2 separate regions of the Homo sapiens genome follow, and region 1 is linked to region 2. The links are contacts of gene promoters, found by promoter capture Hi-C in human tissues and cell types (Jung and others, 2019). All regions are on one chromosome and are shown on one strand. Each heading gives the region's core, a stretch centred on a gene start or on the middle of the fragment in contact. The rest is flanking DNA. Distances are from core to core; before and after follow the strand shown. Region 1 overlaps KMT5B (lysine methyltransferase 5B). Region 2 holds the start of C11orf24 (chromosome 11 open reading frame 24).

Region 1 (4,606 bases), core at 677-3,176, 64 kb after region 2:
ATGGTGTGAACCCGGGAGTTGGAGGTTGCAGTGAGCAGAGATGGCTCCACTGCACTCCAGCCTGGGCGACAGAGCAAGACTCCGTCTCTTAAAAAAAAAAAAAAAGGGGGAAAGAAAACAGTACCTAGATCCGGGGATCATTTGCTGGTGATAAACCTCTAGGTGGTACACGTGGCTCAAGCACTGGAGTAAACCCCAGACTGCAGTTTAAAGATGAAGGTTTTAGACCCACCCTTACCACTTAGTAGCACTTTGAGTTTAGGAAAGCAATTTGTTTCTGAGCTTTAGCCTCCTTGTTGTAGTGCTAATACCTGTTTCACCTGATAGGGTTGCTGAGCTAGCGAATCCCGAGTCCTGCATGTTAGGGGAACCAGTAGAAACCGAATGTGTGTGTTGTGACACCTGTGTTTCTACCTTGTGCCACCTTTATAGGAATGCCTGGTCAGCACATCTCTAATGGCACTCGGCTTGCTTCTCAGGCCTTACGCAAAAGGCCCATTCAGTGAAGGGTCATTCTGCTTCCTAGTCTGTACTTTTCTACCCTGTTAACTTTTTTTCCCCTTATGCATCTGTTTGGTTTTCTTCCCTGACTCAACGACTGATTTTCCTGAAAGTAGAAGCTCTCATACGCCCTCTAGTGTTCCCTGGACATGACCAGTATTCCAGCACCACGAACAGTGCCTGGCAGCTCTGGGAGGTTCTTCATAAGTTTGTTGAACTGAGTGGATTCTAGGTCGGCCCGATGAATTGTTTTGCCTGTCTGATTTGTATAACACGGTTGAAATGTATGATACATTTTAATGGTCTCTGAGGAGTATTTTTATTTTCGAGGCAATGTTTATGTTGCATCATATGGAGAAATAGATATTTTTAGTAAGAAAACCAATCTGATTTTAGGAAGCTGCAGCTTTCCTCACTGAGAAGTAAAAGGGGGCTTGATCCTTCAGCCAGTGAGCCAGTGGCACCATAGGAAACCCCCCTTCACTTTCCCCCTTGGAAAGGAAACAAAACCAGACGTCATTCAGGGTCCTGGAGGGTTTAAAGCAAATATTTGTTTGGTGCATATAAATAAGTACCAGGAGGGCTTTTGACCCAAAAAAGGTATTTTTTGTTTGTTTGTTTTTGAGACAGGGTCTTGTAGCCTCCCAGGCTGGAGAGCAGTGGCATAATCCCAGTTCACTGCAGCCTTAGTCTCCTGGGCCCAAGCAATCATCTCGCCTTGGCCTCCCAAAGTGCTGGGATTATAGGATGAGCTGCCATGTCTGGTCTTGTTTTTATATTTACAATTTTGATTTATATTTCCCTGATCATCCCATCTCAAGTCCATTCTTACATTAGTCTCTCTCCTAACATCCTGTTTGTTTTTCTTACAGCTCGCATCAGATTGATAACCACATACTTACTTACATCTCTTCCCATAGTATGCTCTGACCTCTATGCAGTCAGGAACGATGTCTATTTTGCTCTAGAGTTTTACTCTTCAAATATGGGGCACAGTGGTTTTTTTGTTTGTTTGTTTGGAGACAGAGTCTCACTCTGTTGCCCAGGCTGGAGTGCAGTGGCGCGATCTTGGCTCATTGCAACCTCCACCTCCCAGGTCCCGGTTCATGCAATTCTCCTGCCTCAGCCTCCCGAGTAGCTGGGATTACAGCCACATGCCACCACGCCTAGCTAACTTTTGTATTTTTAGTAGAGACGGGGTTTCACCATGTTGGCCAGGCTGGTCTTGAACTCCTGACCTCGTGACCCTCCCGCCTCGGCCTCCTAAAGTGCTGGGATTACAGGCGTGAGCCACCGTGCCTGGCTTGGGCGAAGTGTGTTTAAAAATTTGTTTGGGGCCAGGCGTGATGGCTCACGCCTGTAACCTCAGCACTTTGGGAGGCCGAGACAGGTGAATCACGTGGTCAGGAGTTCAAGACCATCCTGGCCAACATGGTGAAACGCTGTCTCTACTGAAAATACAAAAATTAGCTGGGCGTGGTGGTGGGCACCTGTAATTCCTGCTACTCGGGAGGCTGAGACAGAGAATTCCTTGAACCTGGGAGGCAGAGGTTGCAGTGAGCAGAGATCGTGCCACTGCACTCCAGCCTGGGCAATAGAGCGAGACAGCGTCTAAAAAAATAAAAAATTTGTTTGGGTCATTATTCTGTGTTGTTTTTTGGTTTGTTTTTTTTTTTTTTTTGAGATGGAGTCTCACTCTGTTGCCCAAGCTGGAGTGCAGTGGCACGATCTTGGTTCACCACAACCTCTGCCTCCTGGGTTCAAGCGATTCTCCTGCCTCAGCCTCCCGAGTAGCTGGGACTACGGGCAGGTGCCACCATGCCTGGCTAATTTTTGTATTTTTAGTAGAAATGGATTTTCACTATGTTCGCCAGGCTGGTCTCGAATTCTTGACCTCGTGATCCGCCCACCTCGGCCTCCCAAAGTGCTGGGATTACAGGCGTGAGCCACCGTGCCTGGCCTGTGTTGCTTTTTTGTGTGATATTAACAGTACACAGTCTCTCAGCCTGGACTTCACTTCAGTTTTTTTTCTAATTCTCTGAGTTTTGTTCTCATTTGTAAAATGGGGATGATAGTATTGAGTGTGTGTTAAAGGGCAGTGATGTTTGTATCTTCTTTTATAGGGTGTGAAAATAATCTGTTTGACCAGGTACACCACAAACTAAACTGTGTTGTAAGAAGCTCTGTAGTCCAGTCTGTGGTCCCTCTGAATGTTTAGGATGGGAGATGTAGCTTGGCATGATTTTTTTTTTTTTTTTGAAACGGAGTCTCGCTCTGTCGCCGAGGCTGGAGTGCAGTGGCGCAATCTTGGCTCACTGCAAGCTCCGCCTCCCAGGTTCACACCATTCTCCTGCCTCAGCCGCCACCATGCCCGGCTAATTTTTTGTATTTTTAGTGGAGACGGGGTTTCACCGTGTTAGCCAGGATGGTCTCGATCTCCTGACCTCGTGATCCGCCCGCCTCAGCCTCCCAAAGTGCTGGGATTACAGACGTGAGCCACTGTGCCCTGCTGCTTGGCATGATTTTTAATCATGCGTGTTGCAGCCAGAAGTTACATTCCTTCTCTTTGGGAACTGTAGGGAAAGCAGAACTGGTGCTCAGCCTTGTGTCATAATTATTCTTTTGCACATTTGTTCTTTTTTAAATGGGTGAGGTGATGAGATTTTTTTTTTCATGTGTGAGTTATGGTGGGGAATAGAAGGGAAATTTCTACTTGATTAAAGTTTTGTGAAGAATGTTTCTGGCCTGCTTTACTTTTGCCTTAGTTACTTGGAAGGGGAGACCTTAATTTGTTAGCAGTTTGTGCTCATTTAAAATATCTTGTGCCAAACCTAGGGAGGCCTTCTTTTCATTGTACTGGTGGGGCATCGGTGAAGTTAAATAACTCGTCTGCTCACACTGCTGGGGTAAGGATGAAGCTAGGGTGGGACAGGTGCTTTGACTGCAGAGCCACATCCTTAATCCCTGTGCGGGCTGCCTCTGCAAAGCCCACCAGCTGGCAAACTCAAAGTGGCCTCTAACGTCCAGCCCAAGAACCACCTTTTGGAAGCTTTTCCTCACACTTGTCCTTGCCCAGTAAAAATCTTTGATGTACTTCTTGTAACTTCTGACAGAAACTGTGGGCTGTAAAGGCTGTACTTACAGTCATTTGACACTAGGTGGCATCTGTTTCTAGAACCGTGAATGGCTGTTTGAGTCCTAGAGAAAACAGTAACAAAGAAAGCATCCTTGATTTTATTTCTAGGCACTGCTAGGTAAGCAGATGGATCAAATGTGGAGAGATGGGGGAAGCAGGCATTTTTTGTTTTCTTCTGGAAGTTTTTTTGAGGACTTTCCCTCAACAACCCCATCAGTGAAAACCTTTGTTTTAAAATAACTACTGAGATGAAGACATGAAGTCTTTCTTACATGACATCCCTCGTCGTAAATACGTATTGAATGTGATATTTAAGAATGAAGCAGTATTTTCTGTGATAAGGCAATTAGGAGTTTCTTACATGTCTGGCTGTAGATCAGTAGCCAAATAAGTAAGTCTAAGAATTGCGAACGTCTGGCCGGGCGCGGTGGCTCACGCCTGTAATCCCAGCACTTTGGGAGGCCGAGGTGGGTGGATCTCGAGGTCAGGAGATTGAGACCATCCTGCCTAACACGGTGAAACCCTGTCTGTACTAAAAATACAAAAAGTTAGCTAATTGTGGTGGCGGGTGTCTGTAGTCCCAGGTACTCAGGAGGCTGAGGCAGGAGAATGGCTTGAACCCGGGAGGTGGAGCTTGCAGTGAGCTGAGATCATGCCACTGCACTCCAGCCTGGTGGACAGAGTGAGACTCCGTCTGAAAAAAAAAAAAAAAGAATTGCGAATGTCTGATCATAAACTTACCAGTAGTGGATAGTTTGCTCCTTAAAATGTTTTGCTCAATGAGAAATTCTAATAGTTTCAGTTTTTATTGTAAGTTTTAATATAAATAGAAAAATGTTCAATTACAATGCTATTCAGGAAGATCATGGTTATCTGGCCTAGCAAGTGTGTGAGTAATCAGAGGTGTAATTAAGAGGCTGGCTCTATTTTCAAAATCTATATAACTCAGTAGCTGCATTTTATACCTTC
Region 2 (4,479 bases), core at 1,583-4,082:
CAGGCAGTGCCATTCCAGAGCCCTAACTTTCAAATGTCATATCTACAAGGTCTTACATTCAAATAACATTGTAAATTCAACAACAAAGAGACCAAGCTCCAAGTTTATTCAGCTATTTCTGCACAGAAGGCACCTGAAATGATCTGTGCCTGGAAACAAAAGGTAGAGGATGTAAGTGTATCATTCTCTATTTTATCCACAGCCCTCAGAAGCAGCTGGTCTGCCTGGCTTTACTCTCCATAACACTCCACAGAACAGTTTTGCAGTTCCCAGAGCTGTGCCTTCAATGGACACTAGGTTTCAGGTGACCAAAGATGCTATCAGAGAATATGACTTTCTCATAGGAGAGAATGAGTTTCCCGGTATGTTGGACCATCTCAGCCAGATATTTCTGTGTCAGAAACCCATCAGTAACACTCTAGACTGGAGATCAGCAAATAGATTCTGTAAAGGGCCAGAGAGTAAATATTTTAGGACTTGTGAGCCATATAGTCTCTACAACTAGTCGACTGTGCCCTTTTATCATCAGATAATACCTAATGAAGAGGCATGACTCTGTTCCAATAGAAATTTAAGAAAGCAGATGGGCTGGGCGCGGTGGCTCACGCCTGTAATCCCAACACTTTGGGAGTCCAAGGCGGGCGGATCACTAGGTCAGGAGATCAAGACCATCCTGGCTAACATGGTGAAACCCCGTCTCTACTAAAAATACAAAAAATTAGCTGGGCGTGGTGGCGGGCGCCTGTAGTCCCAGCTACTCGGGAGGCTGAGGCAGAAGAACGGCGTGAACCCGTGAGGCGGGGCTTACAGTGAGCCGAGATGGCGCCACTGCACTCCAGCCTGGGCGACAGAGCAAGACTCCGTGTCTAAAAAAAAAAAAAAAAAGCAAGCAGATGGAGGTCTAGCTGCCCAGCTGCTCTAGAGGAGAGGCTGTGTCTTATGTTTGTAATTTCAGCCCCAGCAGTAAAAATTGTCCCTATGTTGCCAAAGAGGAAATGAAAACAGAGTCACAGTCATTGATTTTTTTTTTTTTTTTTTTTTTTTTTTTTAGAAGGAGTCTCGCTCTGTCGCCCAGGCTGGAGTGCAGTGGTGAGATCTCGGCTCACTGAAGCCTCCCCCTCCCAAGTTCAAGCAATTTTCCTGTCTCAGACTCCCGAGTAGCTGGGAATACAGGCACACGCCACCACGCCTGGCTAATTTTTATATTTTTAGTAGAGACGGGTTTCACCATATCGGTCAGGCTGGTCTCAAACTCCTGACCTCAGGTGATCCGCCCGCCTTGGCCTCCCAAAATGTTGGGATTACAGGCGTGAGCCACCGCGCCCAGCCCAGTCATTGATTTTTGAAAAGGGCAGGCAAAGAACTAAAATCTGCCTGCCGATTGTATATTTTCACTTCTGGAGTGAGCCTCAATACTGTACTTCATGTTAGATCCGAACTAGTTGGAAAAATTAAAGCAAATACATAGTGAAAGGATCTGATCTTCACATGATCCAACCGGCGTTGGGTCTCAGCAAACCCAACTTTGCAGGTTAAATTCCACACATGAACTGTGGTTGAACTGGGGATGGTGGTGGTGACATCAAATCGCATTTCAGGTGCTCCCAGAGCTCGGAGTGGATGGTAGATCCTGTCTTTGCCCAATCTCAGCTTTCTGTGTCTCTTAGCTTCCTAGCCGAAGACCCCAAGGCAGGTTATAAAACTGGAAATAAAGTCTTGGTTTGCTCCTGTGAAATCATCCTTCGCAGACAGGTTTTGGTTTGGACCGGGGGATGCCTGAGGGTCTTATACAGACTGGGATTCAGTCACAGAACTACTAACTTGCAAAGCCTATTTCTTTCTTTCTTTTTTTTTTTTGGAGACAGAGTCTCGCTCTGTCGCCCAGGCTGGAGTGCAGTGGCACGATCTCTGCTCACTTCAACCTCCACCTCCCAGGTTCAAGCAATTCTCCTGCCTCAGCCTCCCGAGTAGCTGGGACTACAGGCGCACGCCACCACGCCCGGCTAATTTTTTGTATTTTAGTAGACACAGGGTTTCACCATGTTGCCCAGGCTGGTCTCGAACTCCTGAGCTCAGATAATCCGCCCGTCTCGGCCTCCCAAAGTGCTAGGATTACAGGCAAGAGCCACCGCGCCTGGCCTGCAAAGCCTATTTCTAACCAAAGTCAAGTCCCACACACTTGCCTCTAAATTGCGTTTTGCTCCTTTGTTATCCCAGGTTTTACAATTACAGAGCACTTGATGAGCCTGTTTCCACGTCTGTAAAATGAGGCGAAGTTCTTCACTGTGCTATTGCAGAATTAAGCCACTGGCTCTATAGGCAAAGTGCTTAGCACGGGCGTGGCACGCTGCGGGTGCACAGAAACGCTCGCTGCCACCCCACCCTTAACTACCGGGCACCCCAGCGCCCCGCCAGGGGCTGAAGAAACGTGGGAGGAAGCGGAGGAACGCGAAGGGCGTGTGCCCGCGAAAGGTCTCACGAGGCGTTTCGAGGTCGCCTCTTCAGGCTCGGCTGCCGACAAGGTGCCTCTGAGCTCACCCAGCCCAACCCGCGCACCCCGGGACCCCAAGACGGCAGCGGGCACAGCTGGGCAGCAGAGACCCGGGAACACCCACTTCCGCCACAGACCTGCTCAAAATAGCTCCTTCTGGCAGCGCGCAAGAAGTGGCCCGAGCCGGCCCCGGGGAGGCGGGGCCTGAGAGCAGACAACCCCCCCACTTCCGGCTCGCCTCCGTTCGCCACAGGCCCCGCCGCAGCCGCTCTTCGCCCCGGCCAGCAGGCCCGCCCCGCCCTCCGTGACGTCATTTCCGGCGTTTGGGCGGGGCCCGGGCAGGGCGCGCTGCCCGGAGCTGCCTGGGTTGCGCTGCCGGCCACGTCCCCGCGCCGGGCCTCAGGCTCCTTCCTACTGTCCGAGGGCCACCAGGCCGCCGGGGGCCTGCTGCGCCCGGGTAAGGGGCTCGCACTGCCGTCCGGGTAGCTGCTGTCAGGGCTCCCTGACTGGCTTGGGACTGAGAGACAGAGGTTGGGGGGCAGGAGGAGGGTTGGATGGGGGCACGAGGGGCAGTGGGAGAGTGAGTGGGGCTGAGAGAGGCAGGAGGAACGGGACAGGAGGAGCGGCGGATGGGGCACGCACAGAGTGCAAGACGCTGAGCAATGCAGGTACTGAAGAAGTCAACTGGGGGCCGAGCATGGCTGGGGGCCCAAGAGACAGGAGGAGGGAGGAGGGCCGAAGGGGGCCCAGACTGGAGAAGAGGCCGGCTTGTCCCATTGTGGGAGCAGAATGGGGACACTCTGGAAGGGGGCCGAATTTGTCCTGGGGTCTTTCCCGGGCAAGCCCAGGACGGGACTGGACCCCAAGAAGTGTCGCTCTTACTTGAGTGACACAGACCTATCCCCCAGACCCTCTCTCTACCTGGGTGGAGGTTGTGCATTGCCCCAGATTCCCTCCCCTGCCCATCTGTCTCCCTGCCTGCTTCCCCCGTGCGAGTCACTTAGTAGCCCCCGTGTGGCTGCTTAGCATGTTGACTTAATCGTTAGGCTGATAGGAGGAATCGGCCTCCACACGCATGGTTTGCCACCAGAAATAATCATCGTGCTTAGAAATCTGACTGTAATAACTTGCAGCTATCCCTCGCCCCAGGAAAATCTCTAACATTTCGATAAAATCAGCTAGGAAAATCTTTAAAATACAGATGTTTCCATTTATACAGTGGATCTGCCTAATGGACAAAGGAATGTCAGAGCTACCCACGTTCTTAGCAAAAACTAGGCCCTAGTATTTAGCTGTGTTACCAAAACTTCCAGAAACCTGGAAGCAAGCAAGGTAGTTAATGTAATATAATAAATGTCCAATGTTCTAGGTTCCCGTCTGCCACAGAGTCACATCCTTTGGACTACAGGACAATGTCTATATACACAAAGCCATAAGTCTGTGTTCCTTGGGCTTCTGCTACCAAAGTTCAGCCAGGTGACGTGTCAGGATTAGGTACCTGCAGTTTGCCCTGTATTTGTGTTTGCAGTTCCTACTCCTTGGTATCTGTAGCTTGCCTAACTTGGTGTGGGGGCCTGGCCATGTTGCGGCTGAGTGAGTCTTAATAGCCTGATAGAATGTGGGGGTAACAGCTGTAGTCCTTTACCAAGCTTCAGGATTGGTCTTTGGAACCTCTCTATGCCAGAAAAAAAGAATTAAGTTATTTCTTTCCCTTTTTTTTTTTTTTTAAGAGATGGGGTCTCACTATGTTGCCCAGGCTGAACTCAAACTTCTGGGCTTGTAATCCTCCCACCTCAGCCTCCTGAGTGTCTGGGATTACAGGCATGCAGCACCACGCCTGGAGTCCAGTTTTGTGTAACTTGCATAAAGTGCGCCACATATAACAAGCCAAGGTTCGGAACACAAGAATTCAGACAAGATGCCTTGGGAGGCATCTCGAGGTCATGAACCAGAAAAGGATAGGGAGGTTGACACCCAGGGGCATAGTT

The links. The method cuts DNA at HindIII sites, captures the fragments that hold promoters and counts their contacts. A contact is called where the count stands out against the background at its distance.
Region 1: a fragment that was not itself captured here is called in contact with the fragment with the promoter of C11orf24 in region 2 in 1 of the 25 tissues and cell types used here (bladder).

The regions. Positions count from the first base shown.
Region 1 is chr11:68,205,367-68,209,972 of GRCh38, reverse strand. All of the region lies in intron 1 of KMT5B (lysine methyltransferase 5B), which reads left to right. Among named protein-coding and RNA genes, the nearest start is that of KMT5B, 5.6 kb to the left of the region's middle. RefSeq lists a silencer at 3,576-3,665. The HindIII fragment of the contact is 5,675 bases long and covers 1-4,606 here.
Region 2 is chr11:68,270,326-68,274,804 of GRCh38, reverse strand. It overlaps C11orf24 (chromosome 11 open reading frame 24), which reads left to right and starts at 2,832. Exons shown (of 4, transcript NM_022338.4): 1 at 2,832-2,948. LOC105369363 (a long non-coding RNA gene) reads right to left here and starts at 2,703. Exons shown (of 3, transcript XR_950248.3): 1 at 2,629-2,703. RefSeq lists silencers at 696-755, 2,635-3,034 and an enhancer at 1,869-2,723. The HindIII fragment of the contact is 13,528 bases long and covers 1-4,479 here.